Linked DNA regions of Homo sapiens: all the other regions are linked to region 2. The links are contacts of gene promoters, found by promoter capture Hi-C in blood cells and fetal thymus (Javierre and others, 2016). All regions are on one chromosome and are shown on one strand. The core of a region is centred on a gene start or on the middle of the fragment in contact, and the rest is flanking DNA. Distances in the headings are between cores, read along the strand shown.

The links. The method cuts DNA at HindIII sites, captures the fragments that hold promoters and counts their contacts. A CHiCAGO score of 5 or more calls a contact.
Region 1: a contact is called between a fragment that was not itself captured here and the fragment with the promoter of PFN3 in region 2, in 1 of 17 cell types (total B cells). The highest score is 5.7, in total B cells.
Region 3: a contact is called between a fragment that was not itself captured here and the fragment with the promoter of PFN3 in region 2, in 2 of 17 cell types (total B cells and naive B cells). The highest score is 9.7, in total B cells.

The regions. Positions count from the first base shown.
Region 1 is chr5:178,079,636-178,084,188 of GRCh38, forward strand. No RefSeq gene overlaps it. Among named protein-coding and RNA genes, the nearest start is that of N4BP3, 32 kb to the right of the region's middle. RefSeq lists a cis regulatory region at 2,042-2,714. The HindIII fragment of the contact is 6,225 bases long and covers 1-4,553 here.
Region 2 is chr5:177,397,315-177,402,122 of GRCh38, forward strand. PFN3 (profilin 3) reads right to left here and starts at 3,347. Exons shown (of 1, transcript NM_001029886.3): 1 at 2,795-3,347. The coding sequence starts at 3,262. The coding sequence ends at 2,849. It overlaps SLC34A1 (solute carrier family 34 member 1), which reads left to right. Exons shown (of 13, transcript NM_003052.5): 13 at 469-1,534. The coding sequence ends at 972. RefSeq lists a silencer at 566-741 and an enhancer at 4,656-4,808. The HindIII fragment of the contact is 6,138 bases long and covers 2,092-4,808 here.
Region 3 is chr5:178,059,804-178,064,017 of GRCh38, forward strand. It overlaps the pseudogene FAM153CP. Among named protein-coding and RNA genes, the nearest start is that of N4BP3, 52 kb to the right of the region's middle. The HindIII fragment of the contact is 9,851 bases long and covers 1-4,214 here.

The DNA.
Region 1 (4,553 bases), core at 344-2,843, 680 kb after region 2:
CAACCTCTGGTTTACTGGCATCTTAAAATGTGCTACATAAAATTTGCTGGGTGCTGGCCGGGACAGTGGCTCATGCCTGTCATCCCAACACTTTGGGAGGCCAAGGCAGGCGGATTGCTTGAGTCCAGGAGCTTGAGACCAGCCTGGGCAACATGGCAAAACCCCATCTCTATTAAAAATACAAAAATTAGCCGGGTGTGGTGGCACTTGTCTGTAGTCCCAGCTACTTGGGAGGCTGAGGTGGGAGAATCACCTAAGCCAGGGAGGTTGAGGCTGCAGTGAGCAGAGATCACACCACTGCACACCTGCCTGGGCAACCAGAGTGAGACCCTGTCTCAAAAAGATAAATAAATAAAATTTGCTGGGTGTGGTCGCGTTGCCTGTGGTCACAGCTACTTGGGAGGCTGGGGTGGGAGGACAGATTGAGCACAGGACTTCCAAACCAACCCGCAGTGCCCTGACCAGCCAGCTGTCTCCCTCTCCCACCCCTCTTCCTCACCGAAGCCCAGGGCACCCTCATCACCCTGTTGTCAGCCCCTGCCCTAGGGACTTACTGTGGCCAGACCTCAATGCCAGGCCTGGCCCCTCCTGGAGAGCACGCAGGCCAGGGCCTTGTCTCATGCACCCATTGGCTTCTCCCCTCCTTTCTCACCCACTCCTCCACACTTTCGCTCAAGCCAAGCCTGCCTCAAGGTGCCTTCTTCCTCCCCTGCCCGCATCTTACGTCCTCTCTGAGGCCTTCCCTGGTGGCTAAGCCCACAGTGGTGTCCCTCACGTGCTTGGCCAGTACTACGTGTAAAATGGGGAGAATGACAGACCAAACTCAAAGAGTGTCTGAGGAATGAATGAGGGGACTCGGGTCAAGTGCTTGGAGTAGAAGCTGGCACACAGCAGTGCTTGATGAACATCAGAGCCATGCATTATTATTAATATCACTCTTAATATCCCATTTCATGCTGAATCCACACGCTGCCTGGTGCTCTCTTTCACATTTGCTAATCACATCTCTCCAATTGAGTGAGGAAGCAGAAAGGACCCTGGAGGCAGAGACTGGTGGACCTGGATCTGAATTCCATGTTTCCCATGTGTTACCCCAGGGAAGTCACATAACCTTTCTTGGCCTCTGTTTTTGAGTCTGTAAAATGGAGCTAATGAGTCCCCATCCTCAGGGCTGTGATAAGGATCTGATGAGGCAATGTCTGCGAAAGCTCTAAGTAAACTGGGAAGAAATGCTGTGAGAACGACCGTTGCCGGGGAGGAAATTCCAGGCCAGCCATGGTGTTGCTGGAGTCAAGGGCCAGGTGGTTCTGCTTTTGATCAGATCTAGAATGTCCACAAATGGCTAGTCTGTGCCAGACTTTTGAAGTATGAAGTACACTGTAAAGTCACCTCTAAACCTCTCCACTTGTCCCCTCCAGTCTGTCCCCGGCTGCTCTCTGCACCAACTGGCCCTTTTCATTCTCTCCTGGTATCCCAGCCTCCTGACCTCCCTTCCCAGACTCTGCCCACTTAAGTCAATCTCTGCACTGTGGCCAGCATGATCTACCTTCCTGCAGCCCATTCACTCATTCGCTCACTCATACATTACACAATTGTTTATTCAGTTATTACCAGGTGTTCTGGAAATAAAACAGACCAAAATCCCTGCCCTGATGGGTTTTACATTCTAGCAAAATACAGACTTATTATGTAACCTCTGTGCTTTAAAAACTCAACTGGTTTTCCAATTATGCTGGAGTCAACAAAAGTCTTGGCAGGGCGCGGTGGCTCACGCCTGTAATCCCGGCACTTTGGGAGGCTGAGGTGGTCAGATCACGAGGTCAGGAGATCGAGACCATCCTGGTCAACATGGTGAAACCCCGTCTCCACTAAACATACGAAAAGTAGCTGGGTGTGGTGGCACATGCCTGTAGTCCCAGCTACTCCGGAGACTGAGGCAGGAGAATTGCTTGAACCAGGGTGTCGGAGGTTGCAGTGTGCTGAGATTGCGGCACTGCACTCCAGCCTGGTGACAAAGCCAGACTCAGTCTCAGAAAAAAAAAAAAAAAGTCTTGAGCGTAGCCTCCAGGACAGTTTGTGGTCAGCCTCTGCTCCCTTTCAGCTCCCTCCCCGCCTTCCCAGAAGGGAAGGCTGCCTTGGGCTCCAGGTGGGCCACGCCCCTTCAGACGCAGTGACCTTGCTTTGGTTGTTTTCGCAGTCTGGAAAGTCCTCTTTTAAGTTACAGGTTGCTGAATGTTTTCTCCGTAGAGGAGTTTATTCTCAGTCTGGCCTGGTAGCCCAGGTCAGGGGCCTCTCCTCCCCTGAGGTGTGCAGACAGACAAGTCACCCGGAGGCTCCTGACAAGGACTCTGCTTGACCCAATATTAGTCGGGCCCCTGAGGCTTCTCCTAGACCCATCTGTGTGCTTCCTTATACAATCCAGTTTTAGCAAGAACCCTGCTAGCTCACTGTGGCAGAAACCCCCCACCCTCCATATCTGATCACCCTTGATATCTGGTCAGGCTTCTCCTCCCCATCACCCCTCTGGTGATGTCTGGTCACCCTAGCCTGTCTTCAGCTAGAATCGTGTTAGGTGAGTTTAGCTAGAATCCCCGACCCCTGATGTTGCTCTTAGTAATTCCCCATCCCCTGGCCCCCACCCTGCTCCTTGGCTATCACCCCCCACTCGCCCATGCTGTACTGGGAGTTGAGCCCAGTCTCTCTCCCCAACTGCAAGAGCCCACTCCAGCAGTTCCTGTGTCTATCTCCATGGTCCTGAATAAAGTCTGCCTTACTGTGCTTTTTTTTCTTTTTTTTTTTTTTTTTTGAGATGGAGTCTCACTGTGTCACCTAGGCTGGAGTGCAGTGGCGCGATCTTGGCTCACTGCAGCCTCCGCCTCCCAGGTTCAAGTGATTCTCTGCCTCAGCCTCCCGAGTAGCTGGGATTACAGGCACATGCCACCACACCCAGCTAATTTTATTATTATTATTATTATTGAGACAGAGTCTCACTCTGTCACCCAGGCTGGAGTGCAGTGGCACAATCTTGGCTCACTGCAACCTCCGCCTCCCAGGTTCAAACAATTCTCCTGCCTCAGCCTTCCAAGTAGCTGCGACTACAGGTGCCTGCCACCACGCCCGGCTAATTTTTGTATTTTTAGTAGAGACGGGTTTCACCGTATTGACCAGGCTGGTCTTGAACTCCTGACCTTGTGATCCACTCGCCTCGGCCTCCCAAAGTTTTGGGATTACAGGCGTGAGCCACTGCGCCCGGCCTTGACCAGCTAATTTTTGTATTTTTAGTAGAAATGGGATTTCACCATGTTGGCCAGGCTGGTCTCAAACTCCTGTCCTCAGGTGATCCACCCACCTCGACCTCCCAAAGTGCTGGGATTACAGGCGTGAGCCCTGCCTTTACCTTGTGTGCACCCAACCTTTACTGTGCTTTAACAAGTATTATTGAATGACTTTTGTTTTGTTTTGTTTTGCTACAGGCACCAACACGGCTCACTGCAGCCTTGACCTCCCGGGCTCAGACGATAGTCCCACCTCAGCCTCCAGAGTGGCTGAGACTACAGGCATGCGCTGCCACACCTGGATAATTTTTTGTAGAGACCGGGTCCTGCCATGTTGGCCAGGGTGGTCTTGAACTCCTGGGCTCAAGTGATCCTCATGCCTTGGCCTCCCAAAGTGCTGGGATAACAGATGTGAACCACCTTGCCCACCCTCACTTTTTTCTTTAACACTCCCAAAGGTCATTTCCCTAGTTGCTTCCCCAGCATCTACACAGCGGATGCTTAGCTCTGTGTGTGTGTGTGTGTGTGTGTGTGTGTAAAAGCGGCTGGTAAGGGATGTGTGTGTGTACGCACGTGTGTATGTGTGTGGGCATGTATGCGTGCGTGCGTGTGTGTGCGCATGTGTGTGCATGTGTGCATGTGTATGTAGAAAAGGGCTGATAAGGGATAGCAATGGCTTTGTGGGTGGCCAGAGGAGGGAAGCAGGGAGCACTTTCCAACAGGGAGACAAGCGAGGGTCTCTGGAGGATGTGCATGTGGTCAGGGCCTGGATGAATGAGTAGGATGTAACCACAGGAAGAACTGCCTGTTGGGCGACGGGGCCTGCAGGTGCCGAGACAGGGAGGCCAGTGGGATGGGACATACGACGGAGTCATCCAGTGTTCCCTGGGCCAGGAGAGGAAGGTGAAGAAAGGAAAGGAATAGGGAGGGAAAGCGGCAGAGAGGCAAAGCTGCCTGAGTGGGAAAGGCCTTGAGGGTCAAGCTGGGGAACTGGACCCCAGCCTGTGAAGTGGGGTCAAGCAAAAGCTCCCACAGGACAAGAACAGGTTATAGGGGTGGCCAAGGAGAAGCAGAGACTACCAACTTTCTAAAAAGGAGAGGAACTCTTAGCTTTTGGTGATGAGGCCAAGTAGAAAACTGGGCGTGGGGCTGCCACAGCTTCAAGAAGCCAGAAATCCAGTCTTTGTAGTCAAAATTCCTGAATGAAAATGTCACCATCAAATACAACGGGTGTTTTGGGTCTCCGGTTACACTCCCTCGGGCAGAGTTTTACATGAT
Region 2 (4,808 bases), core at 2,097-4,596:
TAAGGAAGAGGAAGAGGAAGAGGCACTACAAAAGAGGGCCTGGAGCAGTTTGGGGAATCCATTGCGGGGGTCAAGGCCGCAAATGGCAAAGGGGAATTATTCTAGGAGCAAAGGAGTAACTGACAAGCCAAGGCACTGACTGAATGAGGGTCCAGAAACTGACATCAATCCTTTAGCTGCTGGATTTTGGCAGTATCTGCTGGGGGATTCCTGTGCGAGGGGTCAGTGGGGAAAATGTGGGGAGCTCAGGGCAGTAGTTATTTACCAACTGGTCTAGAAGTATTTCAATATTTGCATAGCCAGCATAGCCACCTCGGGGTGATCTCGGGGCAGGGGGCACATCACCCCTAAGTGGAAACTTTCCTGCTGCCCAGACCAGATCGGGGTTCCTATCATCTACCCCTGCTGGCCTGACACAGGACCTGGGAGCCAGTGCCCATCTCAGCCCCTCTGCCTCATCCCCTGCAGATTGCCCTCTGTCACTTCTTCTTCAACATCTCGGGTATCCTTCTGTGGTACCCGGTGCCCTGCACACGCCTGCCCATCCGCATGGCCAAGGCGCTGGGGAAACGCACGGCCAAGTACCGCTGGTTTGCCGTCCTCTATCTCCTTGTCTGCTTCCTGCTGCTGCCCTCACTGGTGTTTGGCATCTCCATGGCAGGCTGGCAGGTCATGGTAGGTGTGGGCACGCCCTTCGGGGCCCTGCTGGCCTTCGTGGTGCTCATCAATGTCCTGCAGAGTCGGAGTCCCGGGCACCTGCCCAAGTGGTTACAGACATGGGACTTCCTGCCTCGCTGGATGCACTCCCTGAAGCCCCTGGACCACCTCATCACCCGCGCCACCCTATGCTGTGCCAGGCCTGAGCCCCGCTCACCCCCGCTGCCCCCCAGGGTCTTCCTGGAGGAGCTACCCCCTGCCACACCCTCCCCCCGTCTTGCACTGCCTGCTCACCACAATGCCACCCGCCTCTAGGCTGTGGGCCCAGACTACAGCCTGGAATGGGGAAGGCCTGGGGTGGAAAGGCAGGGGAGGGAGGGTGTGTGTAGGTATGTGCATGTGCCTGTGCCACCCTGGGTGCCAGTCTCTCCTTCTGTAGCTCCGCAAAGCTCTGGGCTTGTGTGAGAGTGTCGGTGTGTGTGCATGTGTGGGGGTGAGTCTGCATGTGCACCTGTCATGTGTAGAAGCTTGTATTTGTGTACAGGTGTGCCAGCCCATGCAGGTGTACACAGACACACCTGTGGGAGGCTGTGTGCAGGCTGCAGGATATCTGGGTATGATTTCAGGTCCTCTGCACGTGTACACATGACTAGGATAGGCAGGAGTAAGGGTGGGTCTGGGTATATGACTGTGCAGCTGTTTGTGCATAGATGTTGGTGCCTGCGTTACTGAATTTGCACACCTCCTTGCCACCTTCCTTCCTCCAAGATACCATCTCCTCATCCTAACCCAGGTCTTCGGCACCACCACAATTAATTCCCTTCCCAACACTTGCCTGATGGAAAAAAAACAAAGGAATTAAAACTCTCCTCAGGCATTCGGAAGTCTTTTTGCTCTCCATCAATGGCAAAGGGAAGACCAAGCCAGGGGGTTCAGCAGCACCATCTCCCCTCAAAGACTGGCTGCAAGAGCAGCCTGCCCTGCCCAGGCCAGGTGCAGTTCCAGAGAAGCCAGCCCTGCAGGCTCACCCCAACCATCTGCCTGGCCCTACCTTAGTGAGTCCAAACCACAATTCAAACTCCCTGGAAGCCCCTCCTAGGCCTGGGGCCACCCCCAAGGCAAGTGTAAGGAGGATTCTGCACCCCCACCCCCTGACCCCCACCTGGCTGAACTTCCTCTGGTCTCCCTCTGCCCTCTAAATTCACCCACCTCAGCCACACATCACTCCTTCCTGCTGGGATAAGATCAGGGCTCCAGAATAAGTGACAGGTGGGGTCTGCCATCAGGGCCGCTGGGGGAGGGGACGGGAAGGGTGGGGGTGGGCAAGAGAGGCCATGCCCTGGGCCCCAGCACATGGAGGGCAGGGACCAGACACCCTCCCTCCCACTTTTGTCCACTATCTTTGGGCAATAAACCAGGCCTCAAACTTACCCAAGCTTTTCAATTCCCCCTCCTCCATAGGTCACCCTGAAACTGAGGCCTGCAGAGTGAGACTCCCGGGTAGGGATGCCAGAGTTCCTCCCTCTAGTCCAGGGACTCCTGCGGGGCCTTTTCGAAGGCCTGGGGAAGGCAGGATGTAAGGTCTCAAACCCAATTGCGATGGTCTTGGACATGAGCCCTCTCAGTAGGCTCCCCTTGGAGGAATGTGGGCAGAGATGCAGAGGCCTGTGAGCCCCAGAACTGCTTTACAAGCCACCAAGCCCATCCTGTCACCCACTCACAACTTGCTAGTGCTTGAGGTATGAGTGGAGGGGGGAGGAGCAAATTGGCCTCCAGCCTGACACCCTGATGGGGAGAGGTGTTCGCGGGATGGGGAGGGGGCTCCCTTTACTTGTCCTGCCTAATGTGTGGGAATATCTCTGAGAAAGGACGCTAAGGCTGAAACAGACTTTGAGAAGCCCCCACCCTTGGACTCTTCCTCAGCTGCGGAGTCCCTAGGACCCTGGGAACGCGCCAAGGAGCAGCAGTCAGGCCAGGAGCCTCTGCAAGGCGTCCATGGGAGAGCAGGGTGTAGGGCACAGGGGCCTGGCAGCCTCTAGACTCAAAATCCCGGCTCCACCAGGTAACCGTCTTGCAAAGACCAGTTTCCTTATTTACAACTCCCCCCACCGCGCAAGTGGAGGAGGAGCCAGCCGCGCCCAGGTCACAGTTTATTTGGCCCGCGCTACCAGTGGGCGGCCTGGCTGGCCGGCTAGGCGCCCTGCATGCGCAGCCCGCGTATGAGTTCGTGCACCGTCTTGTTGAGGATGCCCCCATGTACGCCGCGTCGGCCCATTAGCACCAGGAGCGCGCGCGGCGCACGGCCCACGCACACGGCGCGCGCGTCCAGCCCCTTGGTGCGTGCGTCCAGCACGCCGTCACCCTCGGCCAGCAGGTGGTCGCGGATGACGCAGCAGCGGCGGCCCCCCACGCTCAGGCCCGCCTGCAGGAAGGTGTGCCTGTCCGGCCCCGTGAGCACGCCCACCTCCTGCGGCGAGATGGCCGCCAGCAGGCCCCCGGGCCGCGAAGCCCACACGCAGCTGTTGTCCGCATGGCCCACGATGGCCACGTCGTCGATGCGCTGGTCCCGCAGCACTGCACTGATGTAGACCTTCCAGTCGCCCATCGCGCTCCGAGTGCGCCCAGCCGCCTCGCACCTCTCGGGGAAATATAGAGGCGCCACGCGGGGAAGGCCTGCGGCGCTGTGAGGCAGGCTGGGCGGGGCTGTGACGTCACACAAGGCGCCGTCCCGGAGCGACCACCCAGGCTGGGGCACGTGGGGCGTGGGCGTTTAGTGCTGTCGCAGTTCTAAGGTTATCCTGTAGGATGGGTTTGGCAGAGCGCAGCGGCTCACTCCTGTAATCCCAGCGCTTTGGGAGGCCGAGGCGGGCGGATCGCTTGAACTCAGTAGCGAGATTATAGTAAACTATTATAGGATCGTGTCGCTGCACGCCAGCCTGAGCCACAGAGCGAGGCCCCGTCTCTAAAAAAGCAAAAACAAATTTTAATTAAAAAAAATTTTTTTGAGATGAGGTCTCACTATGTTGCCCAGGCGGGTCAGGAAGTCTTGAGCTCAAACAATCCTCCCGCCTCAGCCTCTCAAAGTGACGAGATTACAGGCGTGAACCACCGCATCTGGCCAATCTATTTTTAATTTTAAAAAGCTGGTTTTGTGAAAAAAGGATGTTGTGTCTGGACAGCCAGACCTTCACTTGTAAGGGAACCAACCATTCAACCCCCAGATTGTGGTTCTTAAGCATGAGAGAACATCAGAATCCCCCGCAAGGCTGTTAAACAGATTGCTGGGCCCCACCCCAGACTTTCTGTTCAGCAGTATAAAGTGTAGCCCGAGAATTTGTTATGTGTAACAAGTTCCCTGGTGATGGTACTGCTAGCCAAGGGACTCTCAGACCCACTACACTAGTGCGTGTTGGGGTGGGGACAACGATATGTCACCCAGCCCTTAGGGTCCACGCCACAGTCAATGCTCTTTTTTTCTATTTTCTTTTTTCTTTTCTTTCTGTCTCTCTCTTTCCCTCCCTCTGTTCCTTCCTTCCTTCCTTCCTGCCGGTTCAAGTGATTCTCCTGCCTCAGCCTCCTGAGTAGCTGGGACTACAGGCGCACGCCGCCGTGCCCGGCTAATTTCTTGTATTTTAGTAGAGACGGGGTTTCATCGTGTTGCCCAGGCTGGTTTCGAACTCCTGAGCAATCCACCTGCCTTGGCCTCTTAAAGTGCTAGGATTACAGGCGTGAGCCACCGCGCCCGGCCAATGCTAAGTATTTCTAACCACGATTCTCAACCTTGGCTGTACATGGAATTATCTGGGGAGTTTTACAAATATACCACTACCCATGCCCCATCCCTAGACATACTGATTTAATTGGTCTGAGGTGGAACTTGGGCATAGATTGGCTCAAAACGCTCCCCAAGTGATCTTAATGTATGGTCTGAGAACTACTGCTCTGTAAACAAAATGTTAGTTTCTCATAAGGAATAACATGCAGCTTCTCCTTGCACAGGGCTTGGTATACAGTATCCTAGGCTCAGTAAACATTAGCTGGGCTGGCATCTAGATTTTGCACGTTAAGATCTCATAGACCTTGTTCTCTGAGAGCTGTGGAGAAGCTGTGAATCGCTTTTCTGTCTTGGCATTTCCCGGCGGGACCCATGA
Region 3 (4,214 bases), core at 1,135-3,634, 660 kb after region 2:
ACCAGGCCCGGCTAATTTTTGTATTTTCAGTAGAGACAGGGTTTCACCATGTTGGCCAGCCTGGTCTTGAACTCCTGACCTTAGAACCTGCTTTATTTTTATCATTCTATTTGGATTTCCTTTTGAACGCTTCCTTAACTCCCTTACCATTTGCTAAAATTGGGTAGGTGCTTTATGGTGATGTCCCAACATAATTTTAAGTCTCTTATTGCTTGAACCCGGGACACGGAGGTTGCAGTGAGCCAAGATCATGCCACTACAGCCTGGATGACAGAGTAAAACTCCATCTCAAAAAAAAAAAAGAAGGTCTCTTAAAAGGATAAAGGACATGCTACCTGGTAGAAGTAAACTTAGAAATACTGTCCTCTAAATGCTCGTGTTGTTTAGAGAATTAAAATATTTGGCTTAGCAGCTTGGGTTTCTAAAATGACTTCTCAAAATATTGCATTTACTAAATCTTCTTTCCTGTCCACTCATTGACTTAATTTCTGTCCTTATATGCTGTGTCTAGGACATTTAGATATAGGAGGTAAATTCTAGCACATTTTGGGAACACTGTGAATAGAGGAGCTGATAAACACATGGAGTGAAACGGGCCAAGAATTGCTGTGAATATTAAAGATAAATAAAGGCCAGTAACAGGAAAAAGAAAGGGACACACAATTCATTGATCAGATTCATAGTTATAAAAAAATGCTCTCGCTTAAAGATTATCCCATTTCTGGGAAAATGGTTATTGCTGTCTCTCTGCTCTATTTTCTACATTATCATAGCGTAAAATGAATTTTTAGGGGATGTTTACAGTTCAATGCATCTTAACAAGTGTATAGATTCATGCAACCACCACCACAAACAGGACACAGCACAGTTCCATCACCCCAAAATCTCCCTCATGCTGCCCTCCACAGTCACCCCCCACCCACCCCCACCTCCTAGCAACCACTGATCTGTTCTCCATCACTACAGTTTTGTCTTTTCAAGAATGTCATATAAATGGAATCACACAGAGTTTATAACATTTTGATATTTGGCATCTTTCTCTCTTTCTTTTTTTTTTTTTTTTTTTGACAGAGTTTTCACTATTGTTGCCCAGGCTGGAGTGCAATGGCGTGATCTCAGTTCACAGCAACATCCGCCTCCCTGGTTCAAGTGATTCTGCTGCCTCAGACTCCCGAGTAGCTGGGATTACAGGCATGTGCCACCATGCCCAGCTAATTTTGTATTTTTAGTAGAGACAGGGTTTCTCCATATTGGTCAGGCTGGTCTCAAACTCCCGACCTCAGATGATCTGCCTGCCTTGGCCTCCCAAAGTGCTGGGATTATAGGAATGAACCACTGCACCCAGACTATCTTCCTTATCTTTCAGGGCAATGCCTGATGTCATACACAAGCCAGCTCCTTCAGCTCCTTCTTACTGTCTAGATTGCCATCCGTCTTTAGCGTGATTACAGAGCATGTCTGATTGCAGTGGCAAGCATTAGGACTCACTCAGAGCCTTGTGGCTTTTCTCTTTTTTTTTTTGAGACAGAGTCTCGCTCTGTCAGCCAAGCTGGAGTGCAGTGGCGCAATCTCGGCTCACTGCAACCTCCATCTCCTGGGCTCAAGTGATTCTCCTGCCTCAGCCTCCCAAGTAGCTGGGATTACAGGCGTGTGCCACCACACCCGGCTAATTTTTGTATTTTTAGTAGAGACAGGGACTCACCATGTTGGCCAGGCTGGTCTCGAACTCCTGACCTCAGGTAATCCGCCCGCCTCGGCCTCCCAAAGTGCTGGGATTACAGACATGAGCCACCGTGCCCGGCCACCTTGTGGCTTTTCTTCTCCATGTTGAGAAGCCGTGTACCGGCCTTGACAGTGAGACTGGTGGTGGCCTGGGGAAGAGTTGGCATGTGGATAATGTGTGGTTCAGTCTGAAGCTCCTCAGCTAATGTCCCAGCTGCCTCAAGTGGTGATCAGGACAGCCTAAACTTTTAATATTTATTTATTTATTATTATTATCATTTGAGACAGGGTCTTGTTCTGTCGGCCAGGCTGGAGTGCAGTGGCACAATCGCAGCTCACTGCAACCTCTGCCTCCTAGGTTCAAGCGATTCTCCCACTTCAGCCTCCCAAGTAGCTGGGATTACAGGTGTCTGCCACCACCACACCCGGCTAATTTTTGCATTTTTGGTAGAGATGGAGTTTTGCCATGTTGGCCAGGCTGGTCTCAAACTCCTGACCTCAGGTGATTTACCCACCTTGGCCTCCCAAAGTGCTGGGATTACAGGTGTGAGCCACCGCGCCTGGCCTAAATATTTATTTATAACACTTGTTTGAATTCTTTTTGTACTTAACGCTGGCTCCATTGTGTGCAACACTGCCATCTGCCGTTAGGATTTGTGTCTGAGAACCTGGGCCCACAGTCTCGCTGCGGATGCAGAACTGGCAGAAAAGCCTACTGCACTTCCCCTGTGTGGTTAAACGACGGTGAACAAGTCCAAGGCGGAAAGAATAACCAAGTATATGCCTTAAGATCCTTTCTTGGAGGTCCCCAGGTGAAATACTAATCAGATCCTTCAGCATTTCCTCCTGTCCAAAAGGATCCTGCTGTATTCCTGTTTCTTTGTCATGAACCGATCACGGCTTTTCAATGATGCATTATCTCATTTCGACAAAATATCTGAGAGCTGGCTGGGGCACGGTGGCTCATGCCTGTAATGCCATCTCTTTGGGAGGCCGTAGAGGGAGGATTGCTGGAGACCCAGAGTTCAAGACCAGCCTGGGCAACAAAAGTGAGACCCCGTCTCTACAAAAAATATAAAAATTAGGAGGTCAAGGCAGGTGGATCACTTGAAGTCAAGAATTCAAGTTCAGCCTGGCCTACATGGAGAAACCCTGTCTCTACTAAAAATACAAAAATTAGCTGGGCATGGTGGTGCACGCCTGTAATTCCAGCTACTCGGGAGGCCGAGGCATGAGAATCACTTGAACCTGGGAGGTGGAGGTTGCAGTGAGCCATGGTTATGCCACTGCACTCCAACCTGGGTGACAGAGGCCCTGTTAAGAAAGAAGAAACAAGAAAGAGAGAGAGAGAGAGAGAGAGAAAGGAAGGAAAGAGAAGGAGAGAGATAAAGAAAAGAAGGAACAGAAGTCGAAGGAAGGAAGACACAGATAAGAGCAGCAAAATAAGAGAAGAAAAAGAAGCAGTAGAGAATCAAAAGAGCCAAAAATGGTTTCTTTGAAAAGACTAATAAAATCGACACATTTGTTAGCAACACTAATCAAAGGAGGAAGAAAGAGAACGCAATGTAAAGCTAAGATGAAAAGGGAGTACATTTCTGATTTGAACATGGCGAATTAAAGACAGGATTTCCCTCTTTTCTTTATAGGAAACAATCATAACAAGAATAAGAAGCAAGCCGGGTGCGGTGGCTCATGCCTGTAATTCCAGCACTTTGGGAGGCCGAGCTGGGAGGATCACTTGAGCCCAGGAGTTTGAGACCAACCTGGGTAACATAATGAGACCTTACAAAAAAAAATAAAATTAAATTTCAAAAACATAATTAGATACCAGTGTATCCCCAGCAGATTGACACAAATTAAAAGTCAACAGTATCCTGTGTTGGTGAAGACATACAGCAACTGGAAGTCTCCTGTGCATGTTAGCCATGTTTATACCTTTCATCTCAGCAGTTTCACTCTTAACGATATATGCTAGAGAAACTCTTACTCATGTGCTCCACAGACAGGTAGGAGGGCCCAAGGTAACCTTGTTTGTAATTAAGAAAAAATAAAAACAGGAAACAAGCCAAGTGTCCAATGGGATAATGGATTAGTAAATTGTGATACACAATGAAACTGCATATGTGCGCACATCAACATGAACGAACCCTCCAAACATAATGTTGAGGAAAAAACAAGCAAATCACAGAATACAAAAAATATATAATACCTTTGTATAAAGTTCAAAAACAAGCAAAACTAACCAATATATTCTTCAACAATATGTGCATGCATACGTAAATGTGGTAAACATGAAGAAAAGCAAGGAAGCGATAAAAGCTGAGAGCAGATTACTAGGGGGATAAGGAGGGAGAGGATGCATTTGGGAGGGGCTCACAGTGGCTTCAAAGATATACTTAGCATTCTATTTCTTCTTCTTCTTTTTTTTTTTTTTTTTTTTTTTTTTTTACCAGAGAAGGTGTTGCTCCATTGCCCAGGTTGCGATCATAGCT